Regions from separate parts of the Homo sapiens genome. Here region 2 is linked to region 1. Evidence: promoter capture Hi-C in 16 types of primary human blood cells and fetal thymus (Javierre and others, 2016). All regions are on one chromosome and are shown on one strand. The core of a region is centred on a gene start or on the middle of the fragment in contact, and the rest is flanking DNA. Distances in the headings are between cores, read along the strand shown.

Region 1 (5,886 bases), core at 344-2,843:
CTCTACTAAAAATACAACAATTAGCCGGGTGTGATGGCGCGTGCCTGTAGTCCCAGCTAGTTGGGAGGCTGAGGCAGGAGAAACGCTTGAGCCCGCAAGGTGGAGGTTGCAGTGAGCCGAGATCATGCCACTGCACTCCAGCCTGGTGACAGAGCAAGACTCTGTGTCAAAAAAAAAAAAAAAAAAAAAGCCTTGGTTGTAGGGAGTTTCTCCTAATCCCTCTGGGAAAGCAAGGGTGGAGGGGAAGCCAGTCAATCTCCCTTCTGTTGCCGCATGGAAACTCCCTTAAGGCAGGAAGCTGAAAAAACTGTAGCATTCACCTCATTATTCACCTTGTCTCATGTCTCACTGTCCTTCCACATGTCTCATTGTTACTCCATATTGGATGGAAGTAGAAGTCCCTTTGGTATTTTTTAAAGTCTTTGCCATGTCTAAGTTAATGAGGTTAATGGAGGCAGCAGAGATGGCTCCAGGGTTCTGATAGCAAGTGTCAGGCTGCGTGCTCTGTAGGCACCAGAAACTGTTGTCACCAGTAATTTTGATGTGGTCTGAGTTAGAATGGTCTGATTTGCCATGATCTATTTAACATAGCTTGATTTAGCGTGTCCTGTGTTCTGAATTTAAAACTCACAGTTGTGAAACTGATCAGTAAAAAATAAGGGGAGACCAACTAAAAACCATGTTGTTCTATTTATAGATGTAGTTTTTACTTATTTCAAAATACGAGGTATTTAGTTTTACATTCAAATTGTTCTCTAACTCTCTAAAATGTTCTCTGACTATTTTTGCCCTTAAGGGAGAAACCAGATGTCATTGGTCTTACGTGGCTGGTGTTGGGGGTGGGGAGGGTTAAAGAAACCACGTTCTCTGTCCTCAGCCAGAAGTTCAGTAATCCAAGGCCAGAGAGTGGACGGCAGAGGCACTGTCCCTGGGGACCTTGGTTATAAGTTATCCAGACACAGGGACCAGAGCCTGGGAGACAAAAAAAGATGTAGCCCTAGGGCTTTGGGAAAAGGAGGATGGACCCAGTGAATTCCACGCTTAGCAAGGACCTAAACAGTGTCCCCCAAATGAGAGAAGGGAGGACAGAAAGAACACTTCAGGATGGAAATGGGCTGACACTTAACCGTGGAGTGTCTCTGCAAACTTCCTTTGCCATTCTCCTGTTTGAGTTTGATAAACCTGAGAAGAGACTTGGATAAAGACCGTCACGAAGACTACACTAATGAGTTTCTTCTAGCTTTTTTCTACTCACTTTCCCTATCTATCCTTCACATTGGGAGTTGGCATGAGGATCCCAGCAGCCCATCAGGGGAGGACTCTAGAGATCCCTTTCCCCATTGCCTCTCCTCCCCATACCCCCAGGCATATCCTCCCAGGGCACGGAAGCTGAGAAGCAGTCCAGAACCACAGTGGGCTAGTGAGGGGTACCTGCTGATGTACCCTTTGGACAGCATTCTGCCCCACCCTGCAGGAAGAAGCAGAAGGAGGGAGAGGGTGAGGCAGAGAATAAATAACCCTGACCAGGGAGGTCCAAGGGAGTAGGCGGAGACAGAGAGGCTGTATTTCAGTGCAGCCTGCCAGACCTCTTCTGGAGGAAGACTGGACAAAGGGGGTCACACATTCCTTCCATACGGTTGAGGTGAGTGCAGGAGGCCAGGGGCATGTCCAGGTGCATGGGTTACTTGCAGCTAGGGGTCTCCTGTTAGACTTGCTGAGTGCATGAGAAGCCAGGCTGTGAAGAACCAGAAGTGGGAGATGTGTAGGAAGCCCCTGACTCAAAGGACAGGCAGCCTTAGTGATCTCTAGGTTTGTGTGCTGAACAGAAAGCATGTGGGTGCTGGAGGTAGCCTAAGGGTAGTTTTCAAGCAGTTTTTCAGTGATTAGTTTACTAGTATGCCCATCTGGAGGCTGGCAGGGGCTGATGTGAATGAGGACAGAGGACAGAGGACAGGCTGGGCTGGGGTTAGACTGGGGCTGCATTGGGGTTGGGTCGGGGTTTGGTGTGTGAACAGGGTGAACGTGGTTGAAGCTCAGTCTATGACTGGGGATGAGGCTGCAGCTGGGGTGGAAGTGGGGCTCTGAGTGAGGTTGGTTTCACTGTATGCTGTACATCAGGAGTCAGGCTGTGGCTGAGACTGGGACTTAGTAATCTTCCTGGGGCTCCGATCTCAGCTTGGTCTGTGTCTAGGATCAGGATTCAGTCTTCAGCCCATTTAAAAAGTAGATTAGTGTCCACACGGCAACACCCCTTGCCTTGTACTCTTTACCCTAGCTACACTAAGTCACTTTCAGCTTTCCAAACAAGGTCTGTTCTCTTTCTCTCTGGCTCTTTGTATTAGCCAGGATGTATTTTTAAAAACAAACTAGATAAGTTCTGTTGCTGAAATTCCCCCAAGTCACTCAGAATTAAACCAAAGCTCCTTGCCATACCCTGCAAGACCCTGTTACCTGATGAGGTCCTTGCCTTCCTCCCGCCTCATCTTCTCAAACTCTGTTGTGCTCTTGATGCTCTGGCCACCTTGACCTTCCTTTTGTTCCATGAATCCCCCAATATCATTCTTGCTGGGGGACGCTTTTCTCTTGCTGTCTCCCACAGTTGGAATGCACTTTCCCTGGATCTTAGAATGGCTGGTGTTTTCTCATCACATGTCACATCCTTAAGAGAGGCTTTTTCTGACCCCTGTCTCCAGTATGAGTGTCCTGCACCCATCTTCCTCTGTCCTATCACTCTTTCTTTCGTGCCCTTATCTTCAACTGAAATTTTATTTGTTTACTTCTCATTATTGGCCTCGTGTTATATGAGCTCCATAAAAGCCATCATCTTGTCTGATTTATCTACTGTTTCATCTCCAGTTTTTGACACTCAATATGTTTTTGTTGTCTAACCGAATGCTGCTGTGCCCCACCCCATTAACTGCCTGTGTCACTGCCCCATTACCTGCCTGCAGCAGGTCCCGCCACTGCCATGGCTTAAATGTCACCTCCTCAGGGAAGCCCTTGGAACCTAAAAAGCTTGCTGAGCTATTGTTGTCTTTGCTTCTGAGGCCCTTTTGCTTCCCCTTGTCCCAGAATTTATCATAATGTGCTGTGATGGCTGCATATTTGTCTCAATTTCTCCCCATCCTTGGAAGGCTGGAACGATATCTCTGGTACTCAGTGGAGTCTGGCACAGAAGTCCGTCAATGATTATTGAAAAAATGAGTACACTGATCAAAATCCCACTTTGGGCATTTCCCTTGCCTTACATTTGCTTGCAGCCAGAATAGCTCTACAGGGAACTGGTAACTAGGTGCAGCTTTGCAGATCTTTAGAACACTTATCTGGTCCTACTCAGGAAGTGGAGGAGCAGAGACCTGAAACCTAGGAACTCTGCCTAGGGGTGATTTTAGGTGGTCAGGCTGACTTGAGTGACCAGGGTGGGGTGAGGGCTCACTTGGCTTTTTGGGAGTTAGAAGTTGCTCTCTCTCATCTTTCCATTTTCATCTTGGCCATTTTAAGAAGAGTGACCAACACCTTGCAAGGGTTCATCTGCTTTATTAAATACAAGCAAGGTGTGGGGCACAGTGGATGCAGATAATTTGAGTGGAAGTCATGCTGGGGCTACTACCCTCACTAAGTGTTAGGGAAGGGACTCTATTTAAGAATCAAGTGACAAGCTCCTCCAGTCCTTGCCAGCCACAGCATTGCCCCTGAGGTCTGCCTTCCCTCTCTGTGCCTGGGATGAGGAGCCAGAGGCTCCCAGGTATGTCTGGGCTTCTCTCCAGGGACATTCTTTTCTAAATATTCCCAGAGGCTGACAGCAGCGCCAGAGGCCCTCACTCCATTGCTCTGGGCATGAAACATTCTGTGTGTTTAGCCCAGATAGTGACACTGACAATGAATCTCCTCCTGGTTCTCCTTCCACACTGAACCTAAGTGGGGAGAGCTGGTCATGTGTCCTGAGTCCGAGAGGGGCCCCTGGACTCATGGGTCATCAGTGTTGGATTCCTGAGAGATTAATATTGAAATAGTGCTTACAAAGCGAAGTCCCTTCTTAAGGAGACATGGGGAGGGGTAGGGCAGTAGCTTGGCCTACTGTAAAGCAATGGATTTAGCACTAAGGGCTCTAACTAACCCTCAACATCCTTATCTGTCAAATGGGATTAATGATATCTGCTTGACAGGTGGATGAGAGGCTCTAATTAGATAATAAGGAAATACGTGGTAGAGGACAAGCCTTTTAATCTCCATTGTGGGGCCTACCCACCTCACAGCCTTTGGAGTTAGGGCTGAAAGAGGAGGTGAGTGTCCCAAGTTCCAGTGCAGAAGAGTCTTCTTTGCAGCCCTCTTGGTTTCCCTTCTAAGAGTATACCCAGGGCAGCTGTGCTACTTACCAAGCCCTTCTTATACCTTGCCTTTTGGGTGGATTTTATTAGCTTTCAGAAGGTGCAGCAAAATTAAAGGCAGCCTAGAATGAGGGAAAGTGTATAGGCCTTGGTATGAGACTATCTAGGTTAAGTTTCTGCATTACCAGTCACCTGTTAAACTTTGGTTATGTTATTTAATGTCTTGGAGCCTCAGTTTTCTCACCCATAATATAGAAAGGATCCATAGTATTCACCCATAATATAGAGAGGATCCATGGTGCAGCAAGAAGGGATGTTGATGACTTTGGCCCCTTTGCCTGAAGTTCTAGGTTAAATCGGTTTCTCTGCCTTAAACTTTCCCTCCCAGCAGATTGAATTAAACACCCTCACCTTCTGCAGAGCTGTTCCCAGATTAGAGATAATATTTATACAGATGGCACTGTATAGTTTCTGTCATTTTGTAGGTGCTCAATAATCTATGTTCATATTATAAAAACAACAAAATCAGGGTTAAAGGTGACCTCATTGTTCTCTTGGGTCAGAAGAGATAGGGCTAATAGGCTAATGGTACACCTTTGGAGTACCATCTCACTAAGTTCTAATTACTAACAGCTGCTCAAGCTGGAAGGCCATCTGGAAGTCTTCTGTCCCTCTGCCTGTCTTGTGGAGGGACTATGGAACATTGGGATGCTTCAGGGCTGGCCAGTCTGAAGGGTGGCACTTGGGCCCTCTGGCTGGCTTCCTCTCCATCCCTTCATTTCTCTCCTGCTGTCTGGTTTATCTCTCTGACTGCTTTTTCACGGGTCTATGAGAAGGAGTTCTAGGGAAGAATGTGAGGATGGGCTGGTGAGGGGGGCTGGGCTGGCATTAGGAGACAGAGTTCTGAAGCCCGGGGGAAGGAAGGGAGAGGACTGAAGGCCTCCACGTGGATTTCCAGTCTTTACAGCTGGGAGCTCCTGTTCCCCTATTCCTGAGAAAAGGTTAAGATGTCCTTCATAGTTCCTGAAGAAACATTCCTGGAACTTGCTAAGATAGTTCAACTTATTCACAGAAAATCTCAGCACAGGGCTATTCCTTGGGGATTAGAGCAGTGTGTGAGCTTTCTAAAAAAAAAATGCTTTGTTAGTTTATTTTTTCTTGATTGTGCCTTATTTTCAAAATAATTTAGTTCCAAGTTCCTCCAGAGCTCAAAACCATCTCACTGAGTTTTAATTACTAACAGCTGCTCAAGCTGGAAGGCCACCTGGAAGTCATCTGGTCACTCTGCCTGTCTCGTGGAGGGACTGTTGAACATTGGGACGCTTCAGGGCTGGCCAGTCTGAACGGTGGCACTTGAGCTCTCTGGCTGGCTCCTTCTCCATCCATTCATTTCTCTCCTGCTGTAGTCTTCTGGGGTCCAGGCTGATATTTTAGCCCCAGCGATAGCTGCCCATTTTATACTGCCTAGGCACCTCCTTCCCAGGCCAGCTAAATCTTCCTTTTGTTGATTTCTGGTATCTTTGTATCAGTGCCCAGTCTTGCTATTGTGAGAAATTGA
Region 2 (5,866 bases), core at 3,367-5,866, 340 kb after region 1:
GTGAGTCAGGGAGTGATTGGTGAGTGAATGTACACTACTGTACACTTAGGCTACCCTAAATTTAGCTTAAAACTTTCTTATTTAATAATAAATTAACCTATCTTCTTATAACTTTTTTATTTACAAACTTCAATTTTTTAAACTTTTGAATCTTTTGTAACAGCACTTAGCTTAAACACAACCACATTGTATAACTGTAAAAAATTTTTTCTTTATATCCTTATTCTATAAGCTTTTTATACTTTTAAGTTTTTTTCTTTTTTTTCTTTTTTAAACTTTTTGTTAGAAACTAATACATAAACACTACATTGCCTAGGCCTACACAGGCTCAGGATCATCAATATCATTGTCTTACACCTCCATATCTTGTCCCACTGGAAGGTCTTCAGGGTGCATGGAGTTGTCATCTCCTATAACAACAATTCCTTCTTCTGAAATACCTCCTGACTGACCTGCCTGAAGTTGTTTTGCAGTTAACTTTACATATATATGTATGTATGTATATATATATATACACACAATATACATACATACATATATACAATATACATACACATATAAACATATACATATATATTGAGTACACTCTGAATGATAAAATTTTAGTGTAGTAAATACATACACCAATAACAGTTGTTTATTATCTTTATCAGGAATTATATACTGTATATAATTGTATGTGCTATACTTCTGTAGGATTGGTGGTGAAGTCAGTTTCTTTATATCAGCATTATCAGAAATGCAATGTGTTATGACGTTACGACAGCTACAATGTCACTACATGATAGGAATTTCCAGCTTCATTACAATCTTATGGGAGCACCATGCTAATGTGGTCCATTATTGAATAACACTGTTATGTGGCACATGACTATACATGTTTACGTCTGCCTGTATGAAAGTTAAAAATTGCAGGCTCTGGCAATTGTAAAGTCTCTAAATTTCGACAAATTACTCAACTCCCTGAGTCTTAATTCCCTAATTTGTAAAATAAAAGTTGTTCATGTAATTAAATGACATAATTCATACAAATAGCACTTAACAATCAGTAAAAGTTGGTTACTCTTATAATTACTATTTTGATAAGTAGTATACTTATCTGAATAAACACCAGTATAAATACATATTTACAAGAGGTAAAGGGTATAAAATATTTACATGACTTTTAAATCCCTACGGGATCCATTTCTTACTTCACTCTCTGTTCTTATCTGTATGAAAGAGGTTTGCTCAGGCAAAACCTATACTCTAATCAAAAGAAATGACCTGAGGTTCTAGGCTTTTTCCCAGCGTTCCTACAACATTGTTGAAATGTGTAAGGTCCAGGTTACATCACCTCCTCTATTTACCTCCTCATAGAAATCCATGTGGGTTAAGATCTCACTCCAATTAGCCACTAGCAAAGCTTGTATAGGTTTTTATTCTGAGGCTTATTACTGTCTCACAATTCTATGTTTATTTAATAGACCATTCTATGAGACGGTAAACTAACTTAAAGCAGGCTTTGTGTCTTAATAGCCTTTGCACACCAGTAATATGCCATTCTCTCAGTTGAATAAATAAATTGCAAATGCAAAATAGTTTCAGGAGAGAAAATATACACTTTCTATGATGATCACTAAATGACTGTGTGGTTCTGTGCTGTACTGGGGCATCGATGGCTCCTTGCAGCCTGCCCAGCCCCATGGTTCTTATCTCATTACCCTCTATGCTCTCTATTGGTAATCCTTCTCTTAGCATTAGCTCAAACTATGGTATTGCGGTGAAAGCATTTGTTCTCTGTCAAAATGAATTAGATATTGAATCTTCTCCAGAAGAGCTGCCAGTGTCATGACAATGGCATCAATTTTCCAATGCCCCACAAACTCTCCCTGCACCCACTCTTTACCTGAGTAACAGAAAAAGTGGCCGTGCAGTCTGATATCTTCAAAATTACGTTTTCTCATTTCTTCCAGAAGGAGATGGGAAACAATTCAAAATCTGCTAGGAGAGGTCCTAGGCACAGGCCAGATGTTTATACCCAGCAGATCAAATACTATAGCCATAATGAGAAAGATGAAAGCATAGATGGGGGTGAGAGGAGAGATAGGGGCCTGTTTCCATAGTTCTGATTTTAAAAATAATATATAAAATCTGGTATCCATTATTAAAACTTTCTGGTTAAATTCACAGGTCTTTTGTTCCTTACATTGCCAATATCTTCTGCCTCATAACTACTTAAAAAGTTTGATTTTGGATCAGCAGCATTGGCATCACCTAGGATCTTGTTAGAAATTTAGAATATTAGGCTTATTCAAGACCTGTTGAATTAGAATCTGCATTTTTATTAATATCCACAGGCGATTCTATGCATATTACATTTTGAGAAACACTGTTGTGCTTTCAACACATTACTTCCCTTATCAGCAGCTGAATCGTTAATAAGTCACTCATTTGCTTTCTTAGTTAAGCTGGCTCTCAGCAGTCAGCACTCATGTATTTGAGTGCTGGGTCAGGCTTACAGATGGCTGCTCATCTGTGCCGGCCCTATCGGATTGCATGGGGCATACTGGGAGTTCCAGGAGCAGCATTAGAGAGGTGCGTGTCAAGATGAAAGACGGGGCAGTCTCATCAAAAGTGGCAATCCAGGCCAGTGATCAAAGATTCTGCCTTCAGAATAAAATACTCTTTATTTATAACTTCTATACATAACTTTGAGCATTGTGACCCCCCAAAATGACAATTAAATGACCTCAAAGCCTCATTTCCTTAACTATAAGATGAATACTATAAAACACCTACTTCACAGGTAGTTGTGTTGATGAAGAAAGTGCATTCTTGGCACAGCGTATGCGCTCAATAAGTTGTTATAATGATCACTTGTCCTGTGTTGAGCGATCTGAATTATATGCTCGTATGTATCAATAGTTTGTTAAGTATTCACTCACTTCTGATTTCATTACCAGCTATGAGATTTTTTTTACTGAACACTTTTATTAATTTAATGAATAATGGGTTCCTTCCAAGTTCCAAAGTCTGTGCTACAGATATTAATGCAACTTGACGTCGCTGTCATTAATGAGCCTACAGTGTCATTTATGGGCCTGGAAAATATGAGGGCTTCTTTATATTTCATTTTTTTCAATTTGTTAGTAAATTTGTCAATTGACAAATATAAATTGTGTATAGTTATTGTGTACAACAGAATATTTTGAAATTTCAGGAGGGTTTCATTTATTAACATTTCTGCAACAGAATTTCAAGAATACATCAGAGTGATTGAGGAACCATGCTCTATGGGGGTTCTCTGGTCACCTTCTTTCAATGGGATAGAGAGATTTAACCTGATTTTTAACCATCCTAGAGAAGTCTATGTTCAGAACACCGGAGAAAGTGTGAGAGACTTAGAGGATTTTTTTTTATTTTTGCTTCTTTCAAAACTACTATAGATTTTGAATAAGTTTTAGTCATTTTCACCTTGTTTCTTTCATTGTGATTCCACTGAGCTTAGGTTTTTGAATGTATTCAGGCCATAGAAACATCAAAGATATGTCGATGATATTATTGATGGAGATCTGCCAGCAGTGATAAGCAGCATGCCTCATTTAATACATAATCTGACTTAAAACTTAGTCAGATATAGATGTAAATATCAATATTTTATCATTTCCATGGAAAGAGTTTTATATTCCCCAAACCCTAGTTTATTAATCTTTGAAATGAGAATATAATAAGGTCTATATCACCATGAGATTTTAGTGAACAAACTCATAATTTACAAAGTTGATAGAGGTTATCAGGAATAACAATCTCTATACCATATTTGTCTAACAACAAACATCATTGTTTCCATAGGCAGTCTTAAATCCATCTTGCCTTTTTCAGATTAACCATATTCTCTTTTCCAAGTATATCACATATATCTTATTTTATTAATTCCTCTGGTTGACATTCCATTATTTACCCATGTCTTTAGCACATAACGTTCTTCTTTTAGAACATTAACTGGGATATAGCACTCGCATTACAATATCATCCACAAAATGATTATTTATATGCTCATTTGACCACATACATTACCATTTATATTACAGTTCTATATTCCTCATGGTGAAATGGGTGCCGCTTTTGGTACCTTATTAATCTATATTTTTATTTTCTTAATTCATTGAAATTGTATTTATTTTTGTAGAGGTTTAATGGTATGATATATGAATCTTAAGTGTACAGCTTAGTGAGTTTCAAAAAGTGAATATATTTGTATTACCCAGATATCAGTCAAGAAATAGACATTTCATTCCTGGATAAATTTCTATTGTGCTCCTTTACCAACAATCCCCTCCATGACAGAGGCAACCACTATACTCATTGCTTTCTGCAAAATTAGCTTTCCTTGTTCTTGAGCCTCAAATAGGATTACCATTTGGTTTCCCATGTCTTTAATTCAACATGTTTTTAATGTTGTCTATTCTGTTGCCTGCTGCTGTTGAGTAGTAACCATCTATCTATCTCTCATCTATCTGTTGACCTCCCTCCACATATATATCATGTTGTTTAATCCTGTTGATGAAGTATTTCGTTAATAGATTTGAAGCGAATTTTCTCTATTCATTAATAGTGTGACTTTGGCATGTTCTTTCACCTCTTTGAGTCTCATTTTTTTTAACCTATAAAATTTTTATACTATATTTTAATCTATACCAAAGGTTTAAAACACAGAATTGCCTTATAATAAGCCCTCAATAATTGTGTATTTTTAACAAATTCTTTCATTATCTTCCATTTTAATTCTTTTATTTTTATTTTTTTATTTTTTCTTGGAGATAGGATCTCACTCTGTTGTCAAGGCTAGAATGCAGTGGCATGATCATGGATCACTACAGCCAAGACCTCCCAGGCTCAAATGATCCTCCCACCTCAGCCTCCTGAGTAGCTGGGACAAGTGAGCACCACCATGCCCAGTCGATTTTTTTTTTTTTTTTTTTTTTTTTTTTTTTTTTTTTGAGACAGAATCTCACTCTGTTTCCCAGGCTGGAGTGCAGTGGCATGATCTCGGCTCACTGCAACCTCCGCCTTCTGGGTTCAAGTGATTCTCCTGCCTCAGCCTCCCAAGTAGCTGGGATTACAGGGGCCTGTCACCATGCTGGGCTAATTTTTTTGTATTTTTAGTAGAGACGGGGTTTCACTATGTTGGCCGGGCTGGTCTTGAACTCCTGACCTCAGGTGATCCGCCCACCTCAGCCTCCCAAAGTGCAGGGATTACAGGAGTGAGCCACTGCGCCTGGCCTAGTTGAACAGCTTTTAAGTAGCAGAGTTAGGACTCATTTCCAGAGTTCTGTGACTTCCTTCCTTCCTTCCTTTCTCTCTCTCTCTCTCTCTCTCTCTCCCTCTCTCTCTCTCTCTCTCTCTCTCTCCCTCTCTCTCTCTCTCTTTCTTTCTTTCTTAGATGGAGTTTCGCTCTTGTTGCCCAGGCTGGAGTGCACGTGCCACATGCTCGGCTACTTTTTTGTATTTTTAGTAGACATGGAGTTTCACCACGTTGGTCAGGCTGGTCTCAAACTCCTGACCTCAGGTGATCCATCCTCCTCAGCCTCCCAAAGTGCTGGGATTACAGGTGTGAGCCACTGCACCCAGCCGAGTCGTGTGATTTCTAAGGTAATAGCTGAAATATTTTGCTGTGAGATATATATGTATATGTATCTATACATATACATAAACATGTACATCTATAGACGTGTGCGTGTCAACTTATTATCAATGCTTTGTTTTCTTCAACATATAGCTATTAACTACCTCTTTCTGTGTTTTTCTAGATCTCTTTTACATAGGTCTTGGAGATTTTTTTTGTTTTGTTTTTTGTGGTTTTTTTTTGTTTTTTGTTTTTTGT

Evidence for each region. Contacts are between HindIII fragments. The CHiCAGO score rates a contact against its expected background, and 5 or more counts as called.
Region 2: a fragment that was not itself captured here is called in contact with the fragment with the promoter of OR51E1 in region 1 in 3 of 17 cell types (naive B cells, erythroblasts and megakaryocytes); the score reaches 5.8 in naive B cells.

What each region holds. Positions count from the first base shown.
Region 1 is chr11:4,642,389-4,648,274 of GRCh38, forward strand. OR51E1 (olfactory receptor family 51 subfamily E member 1) reads left to right here and starts at 1,594. Exons shown (of 2, transcript NM_152430.4): 1 at 1,594-1,642. OR51D1 (olfactory receptor family 51 subfamily D member 1) reads left to right here. Exons shown (of 2, transcript NM_001004751.3): 2 at 1-672. The HindIII fragment of the contact is 7,717 bases long and covers 1-3,013 here.
Region 2 is chr11:4,981,567-4,987,432 of GRCh38, forward strand. All of the region lies in intron 2 of MMP26 (matrix metallopeptidase 26), which reads left to right. Among named protein-coding and RNA genes, the nearest start is that of OR51L1, 10 kb to the right of the region's middle. The HindIII fragment of the contact is 6,427 bases long and covers 1,404-5,866 here.